Linked DNA regions of Homo sapiens: region 2 is linked to region 1. The links are contacts of gene promoters, found by promoter capture Hi-C in human tissues and cell types (Jung and others, 2019). All regions are on one chromosome and are shown on one strand. The core of a region is centred on a gene start or on the middle of the fragment in contact, and the rest is flanking DNA. Distances in the headings are between cores, read along the strand shown.

Region 1 (3,688 bases), core at 703-3,202:
TTCAGAAATGCTAAAGTCTCATAAGCAATTTTTAAAGGTATTAAAATACAAAACAGAAGTAAACAAAATTTCTTGCCCCAGGGAACTAACTAATCCAAAGTGGAAAAAATAATGGAAGTTTGAATGCAGTCTCAAAAGTGGCCATAAAATGGAATTCAGAATTTTATTTTAATGTGCATACTACATACTTGCTTTGCCAAGGATGACTGGTAGTAAATTCTCATTTATAAAACTAAGCTATAAAAGAAAAAAAGAAATAGTGGAATGAGAGGCAAGAGCGCGCAAGCAAGAGCAGGTGTGAACGGTTGCATGCGATGGCATTCGTCACAGCTGGGATATCAGAGAGAGTCAGATCCTAGGTCAGATGCACCATAGGGGTCCCAGGATAGTCCATCGCCCCTCCCCCAGGACTGGCCTTGGCATGTAACCCCAGCAGCTCCAGGCAGCTGTCTTTCGGCGGAACTTCTAGGAGTGGGGGCACCCATCAGCGCTGACCTGCGGGGCTCCAGCTGAGGACAGTCCGGCCGTGGGAGTTTATAAAGTAATGGACAACAGGCAATGCTCTTCCTGCCCAACAGCAGTGGTCAGAGGGACAGATCTATCCTCACAGAGACTGTCAGGCACTGTCGCTACAGACACGGCCCCTCCCCCGGCACTCAGTCCTGCCTGCCTTACACAGGAGTACAGGAAAGGAACTTCCAATGAGTCCATCTTTTATGTTAGGAGAGAGGCAAGGTGCTGAGTTTCCCATCCGGGGAGTTCAGCTGCACCCTCTCCCCAGCCCCCACCTCCCTGACTTCCCCTCCTCCCTACTACCCCTAACCAGTGGCCCATCATTCCTTTCCCAGTCAGTCTTGGCTGTGATGTTAAGCGGCTCTGCCGGACCCCATATTTTGTCTGGTCTCTAAAAGGGCACTGACCTGAGGGTACAAATGCAGAGGCCCCGGGGCAGCTAGGCAGCCGCGAGCAACCCAGCACCCAGCTGCCTAGGGTGCTCCAGGCAGCGGCGGCAGCAGCTAGAAGCTGGTGTCATTATTACACAAGCCAGGCAAATCCTGCTCCAGTACACAGAGCGCATCTAACCAGCAGGAAGGAAATAAGCCAAAATCCTCCCGACACCACACACACACACACACACACACACACACACACACACACACACACGAGTCTGAGGACAAGGACAAACACTTTGCAGAAAGAACCCTCCCCCCACCCCACCGACGTCCAAGTCCCTGTTTCAGGATTCCTCACCCCCCAGTAGCTTCTAAAATCCTCGTGTTTGACCACCTCTCCCAACACATGGGACAGAGAGAATTTGGCTAACTTCAAATCCTGTCTCCTGAGCACTTGCCCACAAATAGTAGGGGGAGTGATGGGGACGCCCCCCTGTTCCCTCCACCACCCTCACTTCTGCCCCCCACGCCACTCTCAGGTTGACAGCGTCGGGGAAAGACATCAGACCATCAATCCAGCTTTTCCTGCCAGCTGGGGAAACAACACTCGGTCACTAACAGCACCCAATCACCTAGAGAGCGAGAGTGAGCCGAGGCAAACACGCCGGGTTCCAGACACCGTCCCAGCCCCCGAGACCCGGGTTTGCAAAGGGCTGCACACGTTCGCCGGAGGGTCGCTGCCGCCTCCGAGAAAGGACTTGAACCTGAGCCCGGTGAAGGTAAAATGACACAGAGACTCACCTTTAGGTTGTGTGTGGGGTTGACGACACAGACAAGTTGCCCGGCAGCGGAGAAAACCCGTTTAGCCTTGTAGTGCTGAAACCGGAGATGAATGAGATCTAATACAGCCCCAAAGCACTGGGTAAAGAAAAGCATCACAACTTTTGGGGGGTTGTTGGTCCGGGAAGGCAGCGGAGGAAGCTGTGAGTCCTTGGGCCCTGGAAGGAGCGCAGCCTCTGAGACACTCCGCTCCAGCCCGGCTTAGCGCGCCTTCATATTCATCATCAAAATAAGACGGTTAGAATCTTGCAGCAGTGAGGCGGCCAATCAAAAGGACAGAAATGTTATCCTTGAGGTGCAGAGACAGCCAATAACAAATGCCTTCCCTACCGAAACTCCCTGATGAATTGAGCCTGGCGGAGAATGTATTATTGAACATTACCATAGATCAGCACATTGCATTTATCTTGTGATTACAGCCAACCATACCTAATGCTGGGGAGATAGGCTGACAAAATTGATTGCTTAATGTGTCTCCATTTATTAATTGACTTAATTTAACATGAGAGCCTTTCTTAATGCCCTGGCAAGAACGTAAAGCGTTTAAGCCGCCAAATAGTACAACACCCCGCTCCAAAGTAGGCAGATGGATAACGCAGATCATGGCTCGACTCACCAGAGCTGCTTGGGAGAAAATAAAATATTACTAGACTCTGAATCCAGATAAGGACTTGGCAGCAGCAAAAATGTGTATCTTTCAATCTTGCGTTCTGACTTTCTGCAATTTGGATTACAGCCCCTTGATAAATCTTACTCTCCACTCTTTATCAAAGAAAAGAATCCCTGACAAATTCATTTGGAGTTGAGGGGTGGAGGGAAGCACATACATATATATTACTATACATATATATATATTTTCTTTTTTTCAAAATACTGTGATTACTGAAGTCTGAAAGTATTAAAGGATAAAAATGCACAGAGTATGCTTCAAAAAATAATGAAATCCCTGATGCATGAATGCACACACACAGAAAAACCTACACTGAGAGGAAAGAGGCTTGTAAATCAGCAAAATAATTACAGATGCAGAGAACCTTTGCTTGTCATTCATTTGCATATTGGTGGGCAGCAAATTGCTAATTAACCACTAGATTGCTGGAGACATTAAAATAGAGATTAAGGATGCACATACCACATCATTTACTTGTTTCTGCAAATGCTAGCAGCACATTTCTGTGCTGGCACAGGCAGAGGGCATTCCAGTCCTCAGACTGCAAACCTGTCCTTGCTCCCCAGAACAGGGCTGGTGGGTGGGCGGGAGGCCGCTGGTTCTTGAAGAAAGATTCCTAAGCAGTACTTGAAGGGTTTTGGGTTTTTCGGGACTAGCTCTGATGGTTTAGTCTTTGCAGCTAAAGCAGGGGAGTTCAGTGTATTGTGTTTTCCCTCTTCCCTGGTTGTTTCTCTCTTGAGAAGTCAGGCCAGATCCAGTGCTGCCTGGAGCAGGATCAGCCCCCACTGTGAATTGTACCCTGTGAGTGTGAGCCCCCTCCCTCATGGCTCTTGTTCTGCTCTGGCTACAATGCTTGGGTTGTAATGTATGCAAAACATATGCACACGTGGAACACCTAGGTCTGTGACCTGGTCAGGCAGTTAAACTAACAACAGAATAACATACGGGATAAAAATAATGCACAAGTTTATTGATGCCAGGACAGAGCCCAGGCTGTTCATTTTAACTTGCATTTAAAACCAAACCAATGTTTTAAGAGACAAGCTGAACACCAATTAAACATGGAAACTTTGCACTTTTAAAATAACGACACTGGCACCAAACTAGAAGATGACAACATTTGAACTGATTAGAACCTCATCAATGTGATATTTTTATAGGACCTGAGTCCCTGGAGCCACTTGTTACATGGCATATAATAAAGGTTGCTGGCCCACAAAACCAGAATCTGCTTTCTAAAGTTTGAATTGTCCAGAAAATAAGCTTTCAGCAGTTCATTGGGAAA
Region 2 (3,688 bases), core at 747-3,246, 210 kb before region 1:
CCCCTGCTTGGAGGTGTCTCCCTGTCAGGAGGCATGGGGGTCAGGGACCCACTTGAGGAGGCAGTCTGTCCCTTAGCAGAGCTCGAGCACAGTTCTGGGAGATCTGCTACACTCTTTAGAACCGGCATGTGGGAATGTTTAAGTCTGTGGAAGCTGTACCCACAGCCATCCCTTCCCCTAGGTGCTTTATCCCAGGGAGATGGAGTTTTTATGTATAAGCCCCTGACTGGGGCTGCTGCCTTTCTTTCAGAGATGCCCTGCCCAGAGAAGAGGAATCTTCAGAGGTAGTCTGGCTACAGCAGCTTTGCCATGCTGCGGTGGGTTTGGCACCCAGTTCGAACTTCCCGGTGGCTTTGTGTACACTATGAGGGGAAAACCGCCTACTCAAGCCTCAGTAATGGCAGACGCCCCTCTCCCCATGAAGCTTGAGCATCCCAGGTCAACTTTAGACTGTTGTGCTGGCAGTGAGAATTTCAAGCCCGTTGGTCTTAGCTTGTTGGGCTCCATGGGGGTGGGATTTGTTGAGCAAGACCATTTGGCTCCCTGGCTTCAGCCCCCTTTTTAGGGGAGTGAACAGTTGTGTTGCGGTGTTCCAGGCACACTGTGGTATGAAAAAAACCTCCTGCAGCTAGCTCGGTGTCTGCCCAAATGGCCACCCAGTTTTGTGCTTAAAATCCAGGGTCCTGGTTGTATAGGCACCCAAGGGAATCTCCTGGTCTGTGGGTTGTGAAGATAGTGGAAAAACGTAGTATGTGGGCTGGAGAGCACCATCCCTAATGCCACAGTCCCTCATGACTTCCTTTGTTTAGGAGGGGTAATGCCCTGACCCCTTGCGCTTCCCGGGTGAGGTGATGCCTCATCCTGCTTCTGCTTGTCCTCCATGGGCTGCACCCACTGTCTAACCATTCCCAGTGAGATGAACTGGGTACCTCAGTTGAAAATGCAGAAATCACCCATCATCTGTTTAGGTCTTGCTGGGAGCTGCACATTGGAGCTGTTCCTATTTGGCCATCTTGGCCTGGAATTGAAAATAGAGATTTCAAAGTCACCTTCTCTGGTAACAATCAAATAACAGTAAAATAATAAGAAAACGATTCTTCTTACTGCTGCTCTCACCTCTCTCAAAATTTGACTATTTGAAAATCAAGACTTGGCTACTCTGTCTATTGAGTAGCCATTCTTTTATTCCTTTACTTTCCTAATAAATTTGCTTTCACTTTGTGGACTCACCCTGAATTCTTTCTTGTGTGAGATCTGAGAACCCTCTCTTGGGGTTCTCAGGGCCCAGAACAGAAAGGGATCAGGACCCCTTTCCTGTAACATCTTTCTGGTGACCACTGAAGAGACTATAGTATGGAAACCCCTAGCTTTTGGTAAGTGGTGAGGTCCAGTAACATGTTTCTTCTGGTGAAACATGGAAGGGACGATACTGAGGAGACTCCAATCCAAAGGAAATAGACTGCAGAACTGATCGGGGCTGACTTTTTCTAGGTAAGACCTGGCACACGTGAAGTTAGATGCTGGAAAGAATCAGACCTTATCTGCACTTCTGTCTGCTGTCCTAGGCTCTACACCTAGCACATAATTAAAATCCCAAACTTATTAAGGTTTTCACCAAAAGTAAAAGTCACTAAGAGTCAACACTGTAATATGAAATTGAGACTACTTAAGAAACAGTTTTATATGTGAGTCAAGAAAACTTTTCTTTTGAGCTATTTACAGCTTTTAACAATTGAGTAACGTATACTCCTGTGAACAAAATTTGGACCATATTTGTTTCTCTCTACCTGATTTCTCCAAAATTTGAAAACTATTTGTGAGTATTCTTAACATATGGCAACATAGTTATTTGCATAAGTGCAATAAGAATCTGTTTTCTTTTGTAACAGGACACAATTGGAAAAACTGGTTATTTTACCAAGACTTTGACTGGAATGCTATGCTGTGCTTTAAGGAATCAAACTTGACTTTTAAAGCCAATAAAAGCCCCTTGGGGAACTGGCCTCATACTTTACCTATGCAGTCCCTGTAGAGGGTTTATGACCTGTGATAAGTAAAGAATGTCACTTTCTCACAGACCCAGGAGCCCCAAGTTATCTTGGGACCCCAAGAGGAGAGGAATTCACTCAACTCATAGGTATTTGAGGGTACAAACCCATGGTAGGCTTGGCTTAAAAAAAAGTCTTATCTGAGATTTCTTCTATGGAACAGAGTTCCATCAAAGCCAATTTAAAAAGAATCTATGTGAAAAATAATTATTCTTCCTGCACTTTATACAAATAATCAGGCCAAGCATAATAATGCAAATCAGTCTTACCATGATTTGTCTTTAGTAAAAATGGGAAACAAGAGAGAAATATGTTACAAGAACTATGGTACACTTGTTACTAAATTTTAGTCTCATAAGTTATTTTTAAGTTTGTTTCTGCAATTTAGGCTAACCCTACTTATTCCTGTGAACCAACCACTGATCTCTTGACTGCTGCTCAGAAGAAACAAGAGGGATTGGGTAATGTAAAAATCTGGATCAATATTCTAATTTTGGGTACATTGGAATCAGCTAGCGACCCCATATCAGCTTGGTTCCACAGTTGCCCAGTTCATAGAACTGGAATTAGTTCTATGTAAATTAGTTTACTTGGAATAATTTTACTTATTGTGTTTTACTGTTGTTGTGGAATAAGTTGCTGCTGTGCTCTTTGTGTAGGAAGGCAGGACAAGCTTACTGAATATTTTCTTAAATTCAACATGTATTAATCTTCCAGGTATCACCTTTTGTTGGAACTCAAGAGTTATGAATGGCCCTTACCATACTGATGCTTTCTGACTGAGCTCCTCTCTACCCCAAATACAAGAGACACTCACAGTTAGGCAGGAATATCATTATCCCTATTTAGCCTGAAGAAGTTACAGAAGATGGATCTTTATCCCTCTGCAACCCTTAGGATTAAGGGTTCTCTTATGAAAGGGAGGGGGGAAATGTCAGAGACGTTTGAACCAGAGCAACTTCATCTTGAATAGGAGCTGGGTAAAATGAGGCTAACACCTACTGGGCTATATTCCCAGATGGTTAAGGCATTCTAAGTCACAGGATGAGATAGGAGGTCAGTACAAGATACAGGTCACAAAGACCTTGCTGATAAAACAGATTGCAGTAAAGAAGATGGCCAAAACCCACAAAAACCAAGATGGCGACAAGCGTGAACTCTGGTCGTCCTCACTGCTACACTCCCACCAGCACCGTGACAGTTTACAAATGCCATGACAATGTCCAGAAGTTAACCTATATGGTCTAAAAAAGGGATGCATGAATAATCCACCCCTTGTTTAGCATATCATCAAGAAATAAACATAAAAATGGGGAACCAGCAACCCTTGGGGTTGCTCTGTCTTTGGAGTAGCCATTCTTTTATTCCTTCACTTTCCTAATAAACTTGCTTTCACTTGAAAAAAAAAAAAAAGAGAAAATCAAGACTTTTCTAGATAACTTTTGAATTGAAGAGGAAATTGAAATTACAAATGATCCAGAAGACAGAAAATGAAAACACATTGTACCTTTATTATTAAAGAAGACAGATAAAACAAGGATTTTAGCTTCATCTTAAGAAATTAGAAAAAAAAGTAACAAAGCAACTTACAGAGAGCTGAAATTAATAAAATGGAACTCTCTCCAAATGTGGAAGTTAAA

What was found. The method cuts DNA at HindIII sites, captures the fragments that hold promoters and counts their contacts. A contact is called where the count stands out against the background at its distance.
Region 2: a contact is called between a fragment that was not itself captured here and the fragment with the promoter of SIAH3 in region 1, in 2 of the 25 tissues and cell types used here (mesenchymal stem cells and mesendoderm cells).

What each region holds. Positions count from the first base shown.
Region 1 is chr13:45,849,801-45,853,488 of GRCh38, forward strand. It overlaps SIAH3 (siah E3 ubiquitin protein ligase family member 3), which reads right to left and starts at 1,953. Exons shown (of 2, transcript NM_198849.3): 1 at 1,695-1,953. The coding sequence starts at 1,829. RefSeq lists an enhancer at 525-1,062. The HindIII fragment of the contact is 6,525 bases long and covers 1-3,688 here.
Region 2 is chr13:45,640,614-45,644,301 of GRCh38, forward strand. No RefSeq gene overlaps it. Among named protein-coding and RNA genes, the nearest start is that of ERICH6B, 27 kb to the left of the region's middle. The HindIII fragment of the contact is 3,633 bases long and covers 181-3,688 here.